Linked DNA regions of Homo sapiens: all the other regions are linked to region 1. The links are contacts of gene promoters, found by promoter capture Hi-C in human tissues and cell types (Jung and others, 2019). All regions are on one chromosome and are shown on one strand. Each heading gives the region's core, a stretch centred on a gene start or on the middle of the fragment in contact. The rest is flanking DNA. Distances are from core to core; before and after follow the strand shown.

Evidence for each region. Contacts are between HindIII fragments. The study calls those that stand out against the background at their distance.
Region 2: a fragment that was not itself captured here is called in contact with the fragment with the promoter of TRIM56 in region 1 in 8 of the 25 tissues and cell types used here (IMR-90 fibroblasts, aorta, dorsolateral prefrontal cortex and 5 more).
Region 3: a fragment that was not itself captured here is called in contact with the fragment with the promoter of TRIM56 in region 1 in 1 of the 25 tissues and cell types used here (thymus).
Region 4: the fragment with the promoter of CLDN15 here is called in contact with the fragment with the promoter of TRIM56 in region 1 in 2 of the 25 tissues and cell types used here (heart right ventricle and stomach).

The regions. Positions count from the first base shown.
Region 1 is chr7:101,082,635-101,087,368 of GRCh38, forward strand. TRIM56 (tripartite motif containing 56) reads left to right here and starts at 2,847. Exons shown (of 3, transcript NM_030961.3): 1 at 2,847-2,937; 2 at 4,372-4,534; 3 at 4,678-4,734. The coding sequence starts at 4,679. RefSeq lists enhancers at 1,204-1,704, 2,408-2,457, 4,539-4,734. The HindIII fragment of the contact is 14,444 bases long and covers 81-4,734 here.
Region 2 is chr7:101,277,099-101,281,832 of GRCh38, forward strand. No RefSeq gene overlaps it. Among named protein-coding and RNA genes, the nearest start is that of LNCPRESS1, 20 kb to the right of the region's middle. The HindIII fragment of the contact is 6,351 bases long and covers 1-4,734 here.
Region 3 is chr7:101,259,034-101,263,767 of GRCh38, forward strand. No RefSeq gene overlaps it. Among named protein-coding and RNA genes, the nearest start is that of FIS1, 16 kb to the left of the region's middle. The HindIII fragment of the contact is 6,396 bases long and covers 1-4,734 here.
Region 4 is chr7:101,235,092-101,239,825 of GRCh38, forward strand. CLDN15 (claudin 15) reads right to left here and starts at 2,711. Exons shown (of 5, transcript NM_014343.3): 1 at 2,274-2,711. The coding sequence starts at 2,490. FIS1 (fission, mitochondrial 1) reads right to left here. Exons shown (of 5, transcript NM_016068.3): 5 at 4,381-4,734. The coding sequence ends at 4,715. The HindIII fragment of the contact is 32,734 bases long and covers 1-4,734 here.

The DNA.
Region 1 (4,734 bases), core at 1,597-4,096:
TTACTATTATTTTTAAATTTCTGCCTCAATGTTAACCCAGGCTGGTCTTGAACTCTGGGACTCAAGCGATCCTCCCACCTCAGCCTCCCAAGTAGCTGGAACTATAGGCACATTATTTTTTTTAATGACTTGTGACACAGCCCCGGGAGATCCTGAGAACATGTGCCCTCTTTCTAATTTTTTATTTTTTCCGTAGAGACGGGGGTGGTCTCAGTATGTTGCCCAGGCTGGTCTCAAACTCCTGAACTCAAGCAATCCTCCCACCTTGGCCTCCCAAAGTGCTGGGATTACAAGCATGGGCCACCACACCTGGCCTCATAATTTTGTTTACCAGTTGGTATAGGGCTAAGTTTTATAGACAAAATTATATGTACCCTGTAAATATAATTATGTAAAATACGGACAGAGACCAAAGGACATACACACAGGAAAGAAATAGTTAATTGTGTTACAATGATGATATGAGTGTTTTAAAGTATCCACATTATAATTTAGGATTAAAAACCTCTGCTGGGGGCCGGGCCTGGTAGCTCATGCCTATAATCCCAGGACTAGCCTAGGCAACATAGAAAGACCCCATCTCTGCAAACAAACAAACAAAAAACAAACAAACAAATGTCTGTGCTGGCCACTCCCTCTAATACCTATAGGACAAAGTCCAAACTTCCCTGCTGGAAGCCTTATAATGGCCTTCCTTGACCATTATATTAAGACCTTACGAGATTCACAACAGGGAATTTAATTTTAATTTTAATTTTTTTTTTTTGTAGAGAGAGTCTTGATCTGTCACCCAGGCTGGAGTGCAGTGGCATAGATCATGGCACATGCAGCCTTGAAGTCCTGGGCTCAAGCGAACCTCCTGCTTCAGCCTCCTGAATAGCTGGGACTTCAGGTGTGAGCCATCAGGTAGCTAATATATATATTTTTTGAGATGGAGTCTCACTCTGTTGCCCAGGCTGGAGTGCAATGGTGCGATCTAGGCTCGCTGCAACCTCTGCCTCCCAGGTTTAAGCAGTTCTCCTGCCTCAGCCTACCGAGTAGCTAGGAAGGCTAGGTTTTGTTTTGTTTTGTTTTGTTTTTTAGTAGAGACGAGGTTTTGCCATGTTGGCCAGGCTGGTCTCGAACTCCTGGCCTCAAGTGATTCTCCCAAAGTGCTGAGATTACAGGTGTGAGCCACTGCACCTGGCCTGTTTTTCTGTCTTCACCTTGGTTGCCCGTCTGGTTGGTAGCATTCAACAGTGCTGACCCCCTCGTCCTTCTAGAAGTGCAGCATTTCCTGCCTTGGCCTCTGTGACCCTCTCTCTTTTGGATTTCCACCTACCTCTCTGGCATCTATGTCTCAGCCCCTCCACCTTTCACCTGGACCCTGAGGTCAGGCTCCCTTCTGTCCTCTCGGCTGCTGCCAGAGTGAGCTCTTACAGCTTCAGTTTCCTACTTAAATTCCGCCATGTGGATAAAAAGGTACAAACATGCATAGGTATGTCATGAATTAATTACGGTAAAATGATAATTGTAGAACAGAAGTGGTGGAGATATGGGTGTTCACCGCAATTCTTTCAACTTCTTTGTGCTTTGAATTTTTCATAAAATGAGGCTGTGCATGTTGGCTCACGCCTGTAATCCCAGCACTTTGGGAGGCCAAGGTGGGTGGATCACTTGAGGTCAGAAGTTCGAGACCAGCCTGGCCAACATAGTGAAACCCCATCTCTACTAAAAATACAAAAATTAGCTGGGCGTGGCAGTGAGTGCCCGTAATCCCAGCTACTTTGGAGGCTGAGGCAGGAGGATCGCTTGAACCCGGGAAGCGGAGGTTGCTGTGAGCTAAGATCACACCACTGCACTCCAGCCTGGGCGACAGAGCGAGGCTTTGTCTCAAAATAAAAATTATTTTTTCATGAAATGTTGAGGGAAATCTCCTGCAATGATTCTTTTGTCTTTTTTGATAAAATGCAGGCTTCTCTGCCAACACTCTCGTATCCTCTCCACACACATCATCCTAAATGGGGATGTACCCTTGCTGCTCCCAGTACCTGGAACAGGAACATTCTTCTCAGTGTTCTCCAGCCCTCTATGCCCTCTTACTGTTTTATTTTTTAGACAGGGTCTTGCTCTGTCATCCAGGCTGGAGTGCAGTGTCACCATCATGGCTCACTGCAGCCTCGACCTCCCAGGTTCAAGTGATTCTCCTGCCTCAGTCTCCTGAGTATCTGGGATTACAGGTATGCGCTACCATGCACGGCTAGCGAATTTTTTATGGAGACTGGGTCTCACCATATTGCCCAAGCTGGTCTTGAACTCCTGGGCTGAAGCAATCCTCCCGCCTTCTTTAAACTCATCTCATTGATGCCTTCTCCAGGAAGCCTGTGCTGTTCCCTCAGCAAGAGGCTTCTTACCTGATCCCCCACAGCCTCTCCTACAGCTCAGCAACGGTTTATGGAATGAAAGGCCTCTCTTGAAGCTTTGCAGGCACCTGCCTGCCTGAGGTGTTAGCAAATCTGCAGACCCGCCCTGAGGCCATGTGTCTAGTTACCCTGGTCTCTGAATCACAGATGAGCTCTCATTTCTTCCCACAAATAAACCCTGTGACCCTCCACCCTCTACTCAGAGAACCCGCCCTCAGGTAGTTCCCTGTTTGTGACATACACACACTTAGCCCTGAGGCTGGACTGACAGGCCGACCTGGCTGGTGGACTCCAGCCCAAGCCTGCCAGCTGCCTGCCGGGGTGGGGGCCTTGGCGGGAGAGGACGGGGCCGGGTGGGGAGGAAGGCGGGGCCTGAGGCTGTGCGAGGCGAGTCGGTGTGTCCCTGGCTGGGACGGAAGTTGCACCACAAGTACAATTAGTTTCAGTTTTGTTTCTTTTCCAGGCACCCAGCAACGGCGGCCTCCAGGCCTCAGGCCCCCTCACCATCCTAGAGGTCAAGATCAGCTCTGGCTAGGTAAGGGGTGGGGGGCGGCACAGCTATAGGAAGGACCGAGCGGAGGGAGTAGGGGGAGGGGAGTGGAGAGAGAGCGCGGGAGGAGGAGGAAGGGAAGGAAAGGGAGGGCGTGAAGAGGCACCCGGAAGGCAGGAGGAGAGGGCAGGAGGGAAACTGCACTCGCCTCCCTCCCGCTCCGTGGCCACAGGTCCCCGCAAGAAAGACCCCGTCCCACTCTCTGAGGTCTCCTCCCAGCTCCAGAAAAGGGGACATTCCACCTAGTCTGCCCAACAAGTAGGTCTCAGCCACTGTGCCAGGAGCTCGGGACTCCCTCCCTCCAGAGGTTTCTGGAATGCATTCAGCAGGAAAAGCTAAAAGAACAGGACTCCAGGAGATAAGCCAAGGCCAAGTCTATCAGAGGGTGAGCCAGCAGCGGGAAGGGGACCAGCCCTTCCCCTAGCGTTTTTTCTGCCCGCTCCAGAATCCGCTTTAGAAACTGTTAAATGCAGAAAGTGGGGCCTCCACCACCCGCGATGCTGCCCCAGGTCTAGCAGAAGACAGGTGTAAGGCCAGGCGGGTGCGGTGGCTCATGCCTGTAATCCTAATGCTTTGGGAAGGCCGAGACGGGAGGATAGCCTGAGGCCAGGAGTTGGAGACCAGCCTGGGCAACATAGCAAGACCCCATCTCTACAAAAAGTGATAATTTTTAAAAAATGGGCTGGCTGGGCCCCTGGGCATGGTGGCTCACGCCTATAATCCCAGCACTTTGGGAGACCGAGGAGGGCGGATCACCTGAGGTCAGGAGTTCAAGACCAGCCTGGCCAATAGGGCCAAACTCCATTTCTACTAAACATACAAAAATTAGCCGGGTGTGATGGTGCGCACCTGTAATCACAGCTACTCGGGAGGCTGAGGCAGGAGAATCACTTGAACCTGGCAGGTGGAGGTGGCAGTGAGCCAAGATCGCACCACTGCACTCCAGCCTGGGCAACAGAGTGAGACTCTGTCTCAAAAAAAAAAAAAAAAAAAAAAAAGGCTGGGCATGGTGGCACATGCCTGTACTCCCAACTACTCAAAAGACTTGAGTCTAGGAGTTTGAGGCTGCAGTGAACTACGATCACGCCACTGCACTCCAGCCTGGGTGACAGAGGGTGACCCTATTGCTAAAAACTAAAATAAAATAAAAAGAAGGCAGGTGTATGGGGCTTGGAGGATTAAAGCCCCCTAAGCTACTGCAAGATCCTACCCCAACTGGCAGGACCTAGGCATCTCTGCCCACTGGGATCCCCGTCTGTGTCCTTACTGCCTGCTCCTCGCACCCTGGCACCCTATACAGCAGGACCCCAGTACCTGTGCACACAGGAGGGCTTCCACCATGTTTGCCACAAGGCCTGTGGACTGGGGACACTGAGGATTCGATTATTAGCTAAGGCCAGGGACTCCTGGTCTTGTCAGTTCTCACAGGTCTGACCCAACAAGTAGCACTGACATTTTTACGTTTGCTGGATGTACACACGGAAGTGGAGGAGGAGGAGGAGAAGGAGGAGGGCAGCTCCTTAGCTCAAGAGCAAGTGGCCCAAGGCCTCAGAAGACTAGAAGGAAGTTCCTGGCCATTCAGGTGAGACCTCAGGTTCCTTCCCGGCCATTTGGGTCAGCCCCTAGCCCTGGGGATCCGTGGGGCTTGAGGACGGGCGGTAGAAGCTAGAGGGTGAGCTGGTGAAGGTGCCTTCTCAACTCTGATCCTGACGCCTCTGCCTGCAGCATGGTTTCCCACGGGTCCTCGCCCTCCCTCCTGGAGGCCCTGAGCAGCGACTTCCT
Region 2 (4,734 bases), core at 1,647-4,146, 190 kb after region 1:
ACTGTATATTTGGGGACTTGGTGGGTGGAAGAGAGGCAGGGTCACATGGTGTCACACAGCTGCCTGGGCAGCGGTTTCCATGGAGGGGCCAGGGGTAGCACAGGTGATGGTGCAATGGCCTAGGGCATCCATAGAGGGTTCTCAGAGCCCAATAACTGTACTAGACAACAAGGCTGCTCTGTCGGGAAGAGAGACCAAGTGGAAGAACATGAGGCACCAGTCACGTGACTGCAAAAGCCACTTTGGACATTTCAGCCCCAATAGCTGCTGCGAGAACAGGAGGCCTCAGACATAGTGGAGCAGAAATAAACCAGAATACAAGACTCACGAAACTGAGGGCATCATCACATTCTTGAGTCCGAACGGCCTCAAGGCTTCCATGGCTCGAGAACGTCCCCCAGTTCCCACAGCAGAAATTCCAGTGCCTGTGGGTAGAAAACTTGAGTTCCCTCATGAACATGGCTTTAATAGGGATTGGAAGTGTTTCTTGCCTACTAGACTTAGGATCTTGGGAAACTTTTTGGCTTTGACAGGCTGAAGAAGGGACTGTGGAGGTAGGACTATTTCTTTCTTATTCTTTTTCCTTTCTTTCTTTTTTTTTTTTTTTTGAGACGGAGTCTCGCTCTATCACCCAGGCTGGAGTGCAGTGGCACGATCTCAGCTCACTGCAACCTCCATCTCCCAGGTTCAAGCAATTCCAGGCAGGACTATTTCAAGATAGCCATGTAACAGACAGAAAACGGGCTGGTTCTTCCAGCAAATGGAATTTTAAAATTCCTCAATGGGGCCGGGCGCGGTGGCTGACACCTGTAATCCCAGCATTTTGGGAGGCCAAGGCGGGCGGATCTTGAGGTCAGGAGATCGAGACCATCCTGGCTAACATGGTGAAACCCCATCTCTACTAAACATACAAAAAATTACCTGGGCATAGTGGTACGCACCTGTAGTCCCAGCTACTTGGGAGGCTGAGGCAGGAGGAGAATCGCTTGAACCCGGGAGGTGGAGGTTGTAGTGAGCCGAGTTCATGCCACTGCACTCCAGCCTGGGAGACAGAGCAAGACTCCGTCTCAAAAAAAAAAAAAAATTAGCCAGGTATGGTGATGTGTGCCTGTAGTCCCAGCTACTCAGGAAGCTGAGATGGGAGGATCACTTGAGCCCAGGAGGTCAAGGCTGCAGTGAATTATAATCATGCCACTGCATTCCAGCCTGGGCAACAGAGCAAGACCCCATCTCTTAAAAAAAAAGAAAGTTACCACTTTGGGGAAATTGCAGACTCTAAGCCTAAACTCTACTGGCCCGATACACATGGCAAAATATTTGGTCAGGATTCTGGAAGAATATCAAAGAATTCACAGGGCAGAGGAAAGCTTTGAATATTATGAATGAGGGAAAATTTCCATTCATCTCATAATTCATACTAGAGAGACTCCCAATGAATGGCACCAGCGGAGGAAAATCCTCAGACGGAGGCAAGCAGTTATCGGAGATGCGAAAATCACAGGGGAGGACGTGGCACAGAATAGCGTGGAACCCACGTCACAGCTTGCGCCCAAGAGCATCACACGGGAGAGAACCTGCGTCCTCAATGAACGGCGTTCCAAAAAAGCACAACCGCACCAAGCATCAGATAAGCCATTCTGAGCTCAGTCTTTGGAATGTAATGAATTGGGGGTGGTGATCATTTGAGAAGAAATCAGCCCTTATTCATCAGCTGATGATTCCCACTGGAGAGAGGGCGGGTGCTCGTCACGGATGACGAAGCTCTGGGGGTGCTCCGATCACATATAACACAAGAGGCTGCAGAGGGGACCCAAGGGGGGCTGTCAGGGGGCCTCAGGGTACACGTGACATAAAACGGTTACAAGAGGAAAACATGATGAAAAGGGCAAATTTAGAAAGTGATTTCAGGCTGGGCACTGTGGCTCGCACCTGTAATCCCAGAACTTTGGGAGGCTGAGGTGCGGCGGGGCAGGGGAATCACTTGAGGCCAGGAGTTCAAGACAAGCCTGGGCAACATAGCAAGACCCCATCTCTACCAAAAATCAAACATAAATCAATAAAACATTTTTAAAAGCTTTTCTTTTTTGGAACTTGTCCTGTTAGCACCAGCAATGGCTGTGGGGAATGCAGACACCCTTTGGGGGAGTTTGCTCAGATGACACAGTCGTGCACATGTGATCCTTGGGGCAACTCACAGGGGTGCCCTAATGCCATGTACAAGAATCCAGGCCCAGGCCAGGCGCCGTGGCTCACGCCTGTAATCCAGCATTTTGGGAGGCTGAGGCGGGCAGATCACCTGAGGCCAGGTGTTCCAGACCAGCCTGGCCAACATGTTGAAACCCCGTCTCTACTAAAAATACAAAAATTAGCCATGCATGGTGGTGTGTGCCTGTAGTCCCAGATACTTGGGAGGCTGAAGCAGGAGAATCACTTGAACCCAGGAGGCAGAGGCGGAGGTTGCAGTGAGCCGAGATCACACCACTGCACTCCAGCCTGGGTGACAGAGTGAGAATCTGTCTCAAAAAAAAAAAAAAAGAGGCTCGTGGCCTCTGGGGAACACGCCCCATGAGAAACTGTGGTGGTGGCTGCTTCGTTCATTCCTTCATTCTTTTCATATCTTTGGAGCATCTGTTCTGTGCCTGGCACTACTCTGTGGGGGGATAGAGGACAGGGCAACCTTGGGGGTCAGAGGAGGGTCAGGGAAGTAGCAGCTGCTATTTCAGATTACAGGTGTGTGTGTGTCCCAAGGTTCCAGAGGGGAGGGAGCTTAGGTGGGGGCTCTGGGAAAGAGGGAGGAAGACCCTGATCTAATGACTGCCTACCACGTGTCAGGCTGGCAGGCGATGTCTCACAGCAACCCTGCAAGCTTGGTCCTGTTTTCTGCACTTTGCAAATGGAGAAAATAAGGCACATGTACAGCTGGTAAGTGGTAGAGTCGGTACTGAGACTGGGTTGGCCTCACTCCAAATCCCATTTCTCTTATTTATTTATTTATTTTTAATTTTTATTTTTTTCTGAGATGGAGTCTTGCTCTGTCACCCAGGCTGGAGTGCAGTGGCGTGATCTTGGCTCACTGCAACCTCCGCCTCCTGGGTTGAAGGATTCTCCTGCCTCAGCCTCCCAAGTAGCTTGGCTTACAGGTGTGTGCCACCAAGCCTGGCTAATTTTTGTATTTTTAGTAGAGACGGGTTTCACCATATTGTCCAGGCTGGTCTCAAACTCCTGACCCTCATGATCCACCCGCTTCGGCCTCCCAAAGTGCTGGGATTACAGGCATGAGCCACTGTGCCTGGCCTCTTTTTTTTTTTTAATTTTTTAGAGACAGGGTCTCACTCTGTCACCCAGGCTGGAGTGCACTGGCGTGATCACGGCTCACTGCAGCTTCAACCTTCTGGGTTCAAGCTATCCTCCTGCCTCAGCTTCCCGAGCAGCTGGGATTACAGGCATGCACCACCACACCTGGCTAATCTTTGTTTTTTGTAGAGATGGGGGTCTTACTATGTTTCCCAGGCTGGCCTCAAACTCCTGGCCTCAAGCAATCCTCCTGCCTCAGCCTCCTAAAGTGTTAGGATTACAGGTGTGTGCCACCGTGCCTGGCCCAAATCCCATTTCTTTCCACCATCACAAGGAACAGAACTAGTCCTTCAGCAGCACTGTTCCCTGGGATGTGTCTGCAGAGGCTTGGGAGACAATGAGAGGCACCCAGTGAACAGGGAGGAAAGGGGGTGGAAGGACATGTACTGGCTTTTGCAGACCCTCCTCAGGGAACAGTGAACACATTCATTCCTTCATTCACACATTTAGTCAGTTTTTTGCAGCAACAGGATCTCGTTCTGTCAGCCTGGCTGGAGTACAGTGGCACAATCATAGCTCACTGCACCCTTGAGCTCCTGGGTTCAAGCGACTGTCCCACCCTTGGCCTCCTGAGTAGCTAGGACTACAGGCCACGCCACCACACTTAGCTAAGTTTTTAATATTTTGAAGAGATGGGGTCTCACTATGTTGCCCAGGCTGGTCTCAAACTTCTGGCCTCAAGCGATCCTCCCACCATGGCCTCCCAAAGTGCTGAGATTACAGGTGTGAGCCACTGTACCTGGCCATATTTAGTAAAATCCTTACTGAGCCCTATGGGGTGCCAAGCACAGCGTCGAGGTGCTGGGGATATGCATGCGTGAGGCTGACACGTGCTTACCCTCATGGGGCTTCCATCTGAGAAGGCAGGCAGGCACTCCAGCACGCTAAGTGGTGTGACAGGGGCTCATTGGGCCCCATGGAAGCTCAGAGAATGACATAACACAGACTCGCAGCGTGGAGGGAGACTTCTGGGAAGAGATAACTCCTTATGAAAGGCTGGGAAGGCCAGGTGGGGTGGCTCATGCCTGTAATCCCAGCACTTTGGAAGGCCGAGGCGGGCAGATCATGAGATCGAGATCGAGACAATCCTGGCCAACATGGTGAAACCCCGTCTTCACTAAAAATACAAAAATTAGCTGGGTGTGGTGGCGCACACCTGTAGTACCAGCTACTCAGGAGGCTGAGGCAGGAGAATCGCTTGAACCTGGGAGGCAGAGGTTGCAGTGAGCAGAGATTGTGCCACTCTGCCCTTCAGCCTGGGCCACAGAGTGAGACTCCATTTTTTTTAAGAGAAAAGAAAAGAAAAGAAAAAAGGAAAGAAGGAAGGAAGGAAGAAAGGAAGGAAGGAAGGAAGGAAGGAAGGAAGGAAGGAAGAAAGAA
Region 3 (4,734 bases), core at 1,593-4,092, 180 kb after region 1:
AGGCGTGAGCCACCACACCCGACCACCAAGCTCATCTCTTATTGGCTATTAGAGAATTCACAGTAAAGAAATGAGCTGGGGAAGCTTTCTGAGGGCACTAAAAGTTTATTAAACATCAGAGCATTTATACCACAGATAAGTTCTGCAGACATATGATTTTCACCAGCCTGGGAGACATGGTGAAACCCCATCTCCACGAAAGATACAAAAATCAACCAGACATGGTGGTACTTGCTCATATTCCCAGCTACTTGGGCGACAGAGGCAAGAGGATCGCTTGAGTCCAGGTGTTTGAGACTGCAGTGAGCTATAATCTCACTGCTGCGCTCCAAACTGGGCGACAGAGTGAGACTCTGTCTCAAAAAAAAAAAAAAAAGAAGGAGAGGAGAAGAAAAAATAAGTAACTATTGGGTACTAGGCTTAGTACCTGGGTGATGAAACCATCTGTACAGCAAAGCCCCGTGACGCGAGTTTGGCTATATAACAAAACTGCACATGTACCCCTGAGCCTAAAATAAAAGTTTTAAAAAAAGATTTTTAATGTACAGCGTTATAAATTATTCTGAAGTTTGTAATCCTCTCCTTTTCAAAACTCTCTTAGTACTTCCATAATGCCATTTAGGTCCTGTATTTTGACTTATATGAGGTTTTCTCTTATATCATGGGGGGTTTAACACGTATTTATTAAATCTAAGAAGTAATAAATATAGGAAAAAACAGACCTTTAGAAGTCCAGAACTCCATCAAATATTGAAGGAACTTCAAGGACAAGTCAGAGTCTTTTTTTTCTTTTTCTTTTTTTTTCTTTTTTTTTTTGAGGTGGAGTTTCCTTCTATCACCCAGGCTGGAGTGCAGTGGCATGATCTCACTGCAGCCTCCACCTCCTGGATTCAAGCAATTCTCCTGCCTCAGCCTCCCAAGTAGCTGGGACTACAGGTTCCTGCCACCACCCCCAACTAATTTTTGTATTTGTAGTAGAGACGGGGTTTCACTATGTTGGCCAGGCAGGTCTTGAACTCCTGACCACGGTGATCCATCTGCCTCTGCCTCCCAAAGTACTGGGATTACAGGCGTGAGCCACCACATTTGGCCAATTCTGCGTTGTTAAGGATTGCTTCAGATGGGTAATGGTGGGGCAACCAGGCTTAAGTTCAAAATTTAATGGAATAATCTTCATTTGTAGGGTAAATTGAGGATACCCATGTGATGAAAGATGCTTGTTTGTTTTATATTAAAATCTTAGAATTTTATAGAAGGAAATGATTGAAGACTTTTTTATTATTATTTAAAAATTTTAGGCTGGTCACGGTGGCTCATGTCTGTAATCCCAGCACTTTGGGAGGCCTAGTCGGGAGGATCACTTGAGTTGCTTGAACTCAGTAGTTCAAGACCAGCCTGGGTAACATGGCGAAACCCACATCTCTATAAAAATTTAAAAAATTAGCCAGGCATGGTGGCATGTGCCTGTAGTCCCAGCTACTTGGGAGGCTAAGGTGGGAGGATTGCTTGAGCCTGGCAAGTGGAGGTTGCAGTGAGCTGAGATTGTGTCACTGCACTCCAGCCTAGGTGACAGAGTGAGACCCTTTCGCAGAAAAATAAATAAACAAATAAATTTTAAAAATAGAGATGGAATCTCACTCTGTTCCCTAGGCTGGTCTCAAGCAATCCTTGTGCCTCAGCCTCACAAAGTGCTGGGATCACAGGCATGAGCCACCACACCTGGCCAATTCCACAATTCCACATTGTTTTGTTTTTGAGGTCGCCCAGGCCGGAGTGCAGTGGTGTGAGCATGGCTCACTGCAGCCTCCACCTCCTGGGCTCAAGTTATCCTCCCACCTCAGCCTCCCAAGTAGGTGGAACTACAGGCATGTGCCACCATGCCCAGCTAATTTCCTTGATTTTTTTTTGTAGAGAGGAGGTCTCACTATGTTGCCCAGGCTGGTGTCAAACTCCTGGCCTCAAGCGATCTGCCCACCTTGGCCTCCCAAAGTGCTGGGATTACAGGCATAAGCCACCACATTCGGCCAACTTTGCATTGTTTTGTTGTTTCATTTTGGTTTGTTTTTGAGGCAGAGTCTTATTCTGTCTACCAGGCTGGAGTGCAGTGGTGTGATCTTGGCTCACTGCAACCTCTGCCTCCTGGGTTCAAGTGATTCTCCCACCTCAGCCTCCCAAGTAGCTGGGATTACAGGCATGTGCCAACACGCCCAGCTGATTTTTGTATTTTTAGTAGAGACAGGGTCTCACTATGTTGCCCAGGGTGGTCTCAAACTCCTGACCTCAAGAGATCCTCCCACTTTGGCCTCCCAAAGTGCTGGGATTACAGGTGTGAGCCACCACACCTGGCCAGTAATTGAAGATCTTCAATTCAGTTGCTCACTTTTTTTTTTGAGACGGAGTCTCACTCTGTTGCCCAGGCTGGAGTGCAATGATGCAATCTTGGCTCACCACAACCTCCGTCTCCTGGGTTCAAGCAATTCTCCTGCCTCAGCCTCCCGAGTAACTAGGATTATAGGCATGCGCCACCACGCCCAGCAAATTTTGTGTTTTTTGTCGAGATGGGGTTTCTCCATGTTGGTCAGGCTGGTCTCGAACCTGACCTCAGGTGATCCTCCTGCCTCAGCCTCCCATAGTGCTGGGATTACAGGCGTGAGCCATGGTGCCCGGACGAGTTGCCCATTTTTTAATTGGCAAACATGATCAAAGAGGTTGGGTAATTTTCTCAAGGTGTGGTAGTGGGAATTGAAGCCTTTCTAGGTCTCTTGACTCTATAAATTGTCTGCAGTAATTTTTCTATTCGCTATTATCTTTTTGATATGTGGTAGGTCAACTTATTTTTTAAAAAGTAATTTTGAGGTAAAATCATCTGTTTCTGGTCAAAAGTCAGGTAGCTAAGTCCTTCATGAAGAGGAATGCCTGCATGAGCTAGATTACTCAAAGCGTTATAGTATAAAAGACACCCCCTCCCATCTCTTGGAAGCCTTCAAATGCTCGAAAGAATGTTCCAGAAGGCCGGCTGTGACTAGGAGCTGAATAGAGGCTGCTTCCTCTGAAAAATAAGATCACGTCAAGCTGGGCAAATCTGAGAGCTATGAACCTTCCTAAATGTCAAAATTGCTAAGGTATTTTTAAAACTCGGAGGCTTTTATTGACTTAACGACTGAGAAGATGAAAGCAGTGGAAAACGTGAAGAAATCACGCTTTTGTTAGGTGTTGAATTGCCGGAGATGTATCTGTGTCATGAACTGAATTGCATCTCCCAAATTTATATGTTGAAGTCCTAACCTCCAGGACCTTAGAATGTGACTATATTTGGAGATGGGGTCTTTAAAGAAGTTAAGTTAGAATGAGGTCATTGGGGTGGGCCCCCACCCAATCTGACTGGTGTCCTTATAAGAAGGGGAGATGGGGCCGGGTGCAGTGGCTGATGCTTGTAATCCCAGCACTTTGGGAGGCCGAGGCAGGCAGATCACTTGAGGTCAGGAGTTCCAGACCAGCCTGGACAACATGGTGAAACCCCGTCTCTACTAAAAATACAAAAATTAGCTGGGCATGATGGCACGCACCTGTAGTCCCAGCTACCTGGGAGGCTGAGGCAGAAGAATTGCTTGAGCCCGGTAGGTGGAGGTTGCAGTGAGCCGAGATTGCGCCACTGCACTCCAGCCTGGGCGACAGAGGGAGACTCTGTCTCAAAGAAAAAAAAAAAAGAAGAAGAAGGGGAGATGGGGCCGCGCATGGTGGCTCACGCCTGTAATCCCAGTACTTTGGGAGGCTGAGGTGGGGGGAATCACTTGAGGTCAGGAATTGGGATCAGCCTGGGCAACATAGCAAGACCCTGTCTCTCCAAAAAAAAAAAAAAAAGGTTGTGGGGTGATAGATTAGGACACAGACATACACAGAGGAAAGAGGACATGAACACAGGGAGAAGGTGGACATCTGCAGGCTAAGGAGAGAGGCCTCAGAGAGAATCAACCCTGGCGTCACCTTGGCCTCAGCCTCCCAGCCTCCAGAACTGTGAGGAAATAGATTTCTGTTGTTTAAACCATCCAATCTGTGGAACTTTGTTCAGAAAGCCCTAGCAAATTTACTGCAACATGCAAAAGCGGGCTAGCTCAGCAGGGCACAGTGGCTCACGCCTGTAATCCCAGCACTTTGGCCGAGGCGGGTGGATCACCTGAGGTTGGGAGTTTGAGACCAGCCTGACCAACATGGAGAAACCCCATCTCTACTAAAAATACAAAATTAGCCGGGCATGGTGGCACATGCCTGTAATTCCAGCTACTTGGGAGGCTGAGGCAGGAGAATCGCTTGAGCCCGGCAGGCGGAGGTTGCGATGAGCCGAGATCACACCATTGCACTCCAGCCTGGGAAACAAGAGCAAAATTCAGTCTCAAAAAAAAAAAAAGTCAGCTAGCTCATGTCTTTTTATTATTTTTGAGACAGGATCTTGTTATGTTGACCAGTTTGAAGTGTGGTGGTACAATCATAGCTCACTGTAGCCTTGACCTCCTGGGCACGAGGGATCCTCCCGTCTCAGCCTCCAGAGTAGCTGGGACCACAGGCATGCACCACCATGCCTGGATAATTTTTATATTTTTTGTAGAGATGGGGTCTCTTTATGTTTCCCAGGCTGGTCTCGAACTCCTGGCCTCAAACAATCCTCCTGCCTCTACTTCCCGAAGTCCTGGGATTACAGGCATAAGCCACCACGCCTGGCTTCATGGTACTGAAACA
Region 4 (4,734 bases), core at 1,461-3,960, 150 kb after region 1:
CTCTCACGTTGCTGGGTATACAGAAACCACAGCTAAGCATCGCTGTCGCCTTCCCCACGTCTGATTCCACTCCAAGTCCTTCACTGTCCTAGCCCAGTGCTGGACATTTTGACCTTGGTTTCTTCCTGGAGTAACAGGTAGGGGGCAGCGGTGCTGTACAGCAGAGGGCCTAGGGCAGTTTTAGAGACAGGGTCTTGCTTTGTCGCCCAGGCCAGAGGACAGTGGCGCCACTACAGCTCATCACTGTAGCCTTGATTGAACTCCTGGATGCAGGCGATCCTCCTGCCTCAGCCTCCTGAGTAGCTCAGGTTACAGGTGTGGACCACCACACCCGGTGGAGTTTCTGACCTAGGTGGAATCCTGGGCCCAGGACCGATCCAGGTCAGTCTAGCTCAGTCTTTCAGTGCCTCAGTTTCCCTTTTCTCAGAGCTGGAGGCTGCGGGCTCCCTCTTGCTTCCCCCTTCTCCTCCCTTCTCTGTCTTTGATAGTTGCCAAGCATTCCAAGGACCTTGCACCCCTTTCCCGGGTGGGGCATAACTGTTGGTGCTGAAGGGGAAAGGCTGGGTCCCTGCCAGGAGATGCAGGGTGCAGAGTCGGGGGGTAGGCAGGAGGGACAAAGTTCTCTGGGAGCACTTTCTTCCTCCCAGCCACTCCCTCTGGGGCTGACACGAGTCTGAGTCCCCAGGTGGCTCTAGCAGTCAATGGAGAGATTATGGAAGAGCCCAGGGGCACATGGGCTGCGTGGCCAGGGGCTGGGGTGCACGGTTGGGAGACGCAGTCAGGTCCCTCTCCCAGGACCACCCCAGCCGTGGAGTCTGAATGCCGGCTCCCCTCTCCTGCCTGTGTGATTCAGGGTGGGGTGCTGCACCTTGCTTCTGTAAAAGTTTCCCCCTACTTCCCCACTGTGGAAAAATGTAGGCAGAAGCACCTAGCCCAAGGCCCGGAACCTGGTCACCCTCTACCCCTGTGCCCTGGGGACTCTGGCACCATCTTTCATGCAGTTGCCAGGGGTGCCCCTCTCAGGTGTGCAGGCTCACAGCAGAGCCCCCTCCTCACAGCATGATGTGTCTGGGAAGTGGGTGTAGGGGCTGCCTCCAGTGTCCCTTCTGGACACTCAGAACTCTGGGGTTCTGGCCCAAGTTGTACTCAGCTTTTATAGGGTTTTTTTTGGGGGGGGGGCCCGCCGGCCCTGCATACAGTCAGTCCTAGAGAGATGGATGAAAACAGGAAGCCTCTGCCGCTGCCTCAGGAGGGGCTGGGAGTAGTGGGGGCACAGGAGACCCACCCAGGCCCCCTAACTGCTCAGAGCAGCTCCAACATCCCCGGGGGTGAGCTCTCAAGCCCCGCTTCACAGCCAGTGTCGCCCTCGGCTCCTTCCCTGCCACACGGTGCCTGGTGAGTGGACTGGCCCTGAAGGACCCAGGAGGGCGTGCAGCGGCACCACACACAGTTCACGGTCGCCAGCGCTCAGTCTCTGGCATAGGGCAGACGGAAGGGAGACTGCCCCGGAGAAACAATGGGGCGGCCTCATCTTAGCGGGGAGCAGGGAGCGGGAAGGTGCCGCAGCCACAGAAAGAACTGCCCTGGGCCCAAAGAGCTGTTGGCTCCAGCCCTCTAAGACCCCAGAAAGACACTGTCCTGGAAGCCCCACACACCTGCACACACACCGCCTCCTTACAGCGGACGCTCAACCTGCAACTTGCAAGACGCCTCCCTTCACAGGGGCCCTTTATAGACATCAGCCGGACAAGGAGACCAGTGCCCCCCGACAGTGAGGCTGGGGAGTCTGTGGAGCCTGGAAGTTGATCAACCTCTAAGAATCCAAGATGGGGCCTCCTCCCCCTGCCCACCCCAGCAATCCCACCCCCAAAACATGCTCAACCGTACTGAGTGCCTATGTGTGTTAACATCACGCTAACATTCTGCACTTTCTCAGTCACCTGTGAACTGGGACTCTCACCCTAACCCTACAGGTGGGAGATGAAGCTGGTTTCATCATTTGCCCACAGCACAGGGCTGGGAAAGGGGGTCTGATTCTGGTGCCTGCACCTGTAACAGCTAAAAGCGCCACACTAGCGCAGGGGGCCACGTGTGGCAAGGTCTTCACTCCAGTTCTAGGCATGGGCCGCCCCCAGCACTCCTGGCTGCGGGAACTCAGACCCGCAGAGCTTAATTCAGGGCTCCCTGCATCCTCACGGAAGTACCCGCCCTCCCCTGGGGTCTCTGCAGCTTCCCCGCCGCCCTCTCTCCCTGGAGCGCTCCCCACCCCATACCAGAGAGGGCCAGCATGGACGGGAACTCCCAGCAGTTGTAGACGCCCAGGGAGTCGGTGGCACAGCTAAACCAGAGGTTCTCGAAGATGGTGTTGGTGGTGATGACGTTCCCGTGCACAGTGGACACTCGCCAGTAGCTGTTTGGCAGAGTCACCCCCAGCATCAGCAGCCCCACAGTTGCCATGAAGAAGCCAAAGGTTTCCACAGCCATCGACATGGTGGGATGCAGGACCCTGGGGGGCTGGTGCCCCAGAGAGGGGGAGGGGCAGAACCCCTAGGGAACTGGAAGGGGCTGCGGCTAAGGAGGGTTGTCCAGGCAGGCTGGGGTGGAATCAGCCTCAGCCTCTGCCTGCCTCTTCCTCGGGCTCAGGTCCGTCTCCACTTTCTGCCTCCCTCCTGCTCTGTGGGTCTCTCTGCTTCCTGGCAGGTCAGAGGAATGAGCTAAGCCTGCGCGCGGCAGCTGTTGACGAGATGGAGGGAATAACCGAAACGGGCCAAAAGTCCACCCCCTCCCCCCAGCCTCTGGGCTGCCCCGGGCTCCCCGCCCCACGAGGGTGGGGGGGGCAGACTTACCCTGGAGCCACTGACGGATACAGCCAAGGAGGGGCCCCCAAGGGAGGCACTGGGAACTGAGGGGAAGCGTCTGTCTCTGACTCAGCTTTCATTGGGGGCCAAAGAACGGAGTAAGAGGGACAAGGAGTGAAAAGATGACAGAGACAGACGTGAGAGCAATAAGGGACAGAGACGGAGAGAGAATGAACAGCAGCCTTCAGTGGTGAAGGACGGAGGAACCACGAGAACAATCTAAGATACTCAGACCAAGGGGTTGGGGCGTATGAGTCTCTTAAGGAAGATCAAGCTGGAATGAGGGGATGGGAGGGTAGGAGACCCACAGCTCTGGGCTCCATCCAGCCTGGAATGGAACTCGGCCCCACCATCCATTCACCAGGGAACTCAGGCGGGGAGTTTTAGTCCCCTGAGCTTCTGCTCTGTCAGTGACATACCCGACTGCTTACTGCAGGGGCTGTGGTGAGAACTGGGACCAGGGGCCGGGCGCAGTGGCTCTCGCCTGTAATCCTACCACTTTGGGAGGCTGGGCTGAGACGATTGCTTGAACTCAGGAGTTCAAGACCAGCCTGGGCAACACACTGAGACCTCGTTGGGACCAGGGAGTCAAGCCCCCCACACATAACCAGCGCTTGGCACCGGGAACTGTCCTGGATGTGAGTGTCACAGGGCTGAGGCCACCAGGGAGTCGCTCTCACCCAAAACTCAAATTTCCTCCTAAGTTGATCTTTGACTCAGCATCGAGCCTGGTCCTGCTGGCCAACAGCCTGGAGCGTGATCCTGTGGCTAAGCTCTGCAACCTGTTCCCAGTTATCAGGGACTGTCACCCACTCTATTCGTTAATGATGATGGATTAGCAGCCTCTGGTCCCCATCCCGAGCCAGTGCAGAGCACCTGTCCCAGAGCAGACACTCTCATCTCCTGCTCCGGTTCCCTAGGGCTCTGTCCCTGGGGGCCATCAGCGCTGGCTGCGCACCTCCCTGGCCCCACGGCCCTGCTGGGCTTCTCCGGCCTCCCCTCAGGTGTCTCCTCCCTACTCCTGTGCTGGCCTGGGCTGTGGAACGAGAGGTATGCGGTGAAGCAAAACAGGCCCATGCCGAGCCTGGCACGAGGGGGCGAAGCTGGCTAGGTGGGGCTGAGTCCTGACCTTCCAGCCCACAGGCGAGAGCTGGGGCTCCCTGGGCTCTGACCTCTCCCGGGACCCCCGCCTACTCCATGCCAGATGCAGGATTCCTTCCCCTACTGGGCTCCCCCTCCCCCAGAGGAGGAGGTAGGAGGAAGGGGAGGCCACAGGAAGACAAAGGGAGGGGAGGGTGGGGAGGAGGAAGCCAAGGGGGCCTGCTGTGGAAAACTCCACAGAAGTAGCTGAGTGGGTCAGAGGAGAATGCAGGCCTGAAGCCCGGCCTGGCCCCGAAGTTCTGCCCGCCCATGCTCAGGTCACTGCCTTCTCCCAGGACTCTGGGACCATGGAAAAGCCCCATGTCTCCGAGCTGCCCGGCACTCTCAAGGACATGGCTTCAGGAAAGGGAGGAAGGAAGGGTGTGGGCTCTGGGCTGCGGGGTGGACAAAGAACCCCGTGCCAACCTGGAGGGCAGGGGCAGGAGAGGACCAGGAGTGACGTCTCCGCCCCCTGTGCCCAGCGTTCAGAACCCACCCCTCCCCTCAACGCAGACACGGGGGTTCCCAAGCCACAGCCCCGTTTTATTTACACTCATCCCAAAGCACATGATGGGGCTGAAGGACGAATCTCAGGGGAGCAGAAATTAGCTGAAGGCCACAGAGGATAGAGACGGGGGGCAGGGGGAGAACAGGGAAAGGACAGCGAGGATGGACAGGCCCTCCTGGAGCGTTCTCCGTGGGCTCCCGCGTCTCCTTCAGGATTTGGACTTGGACA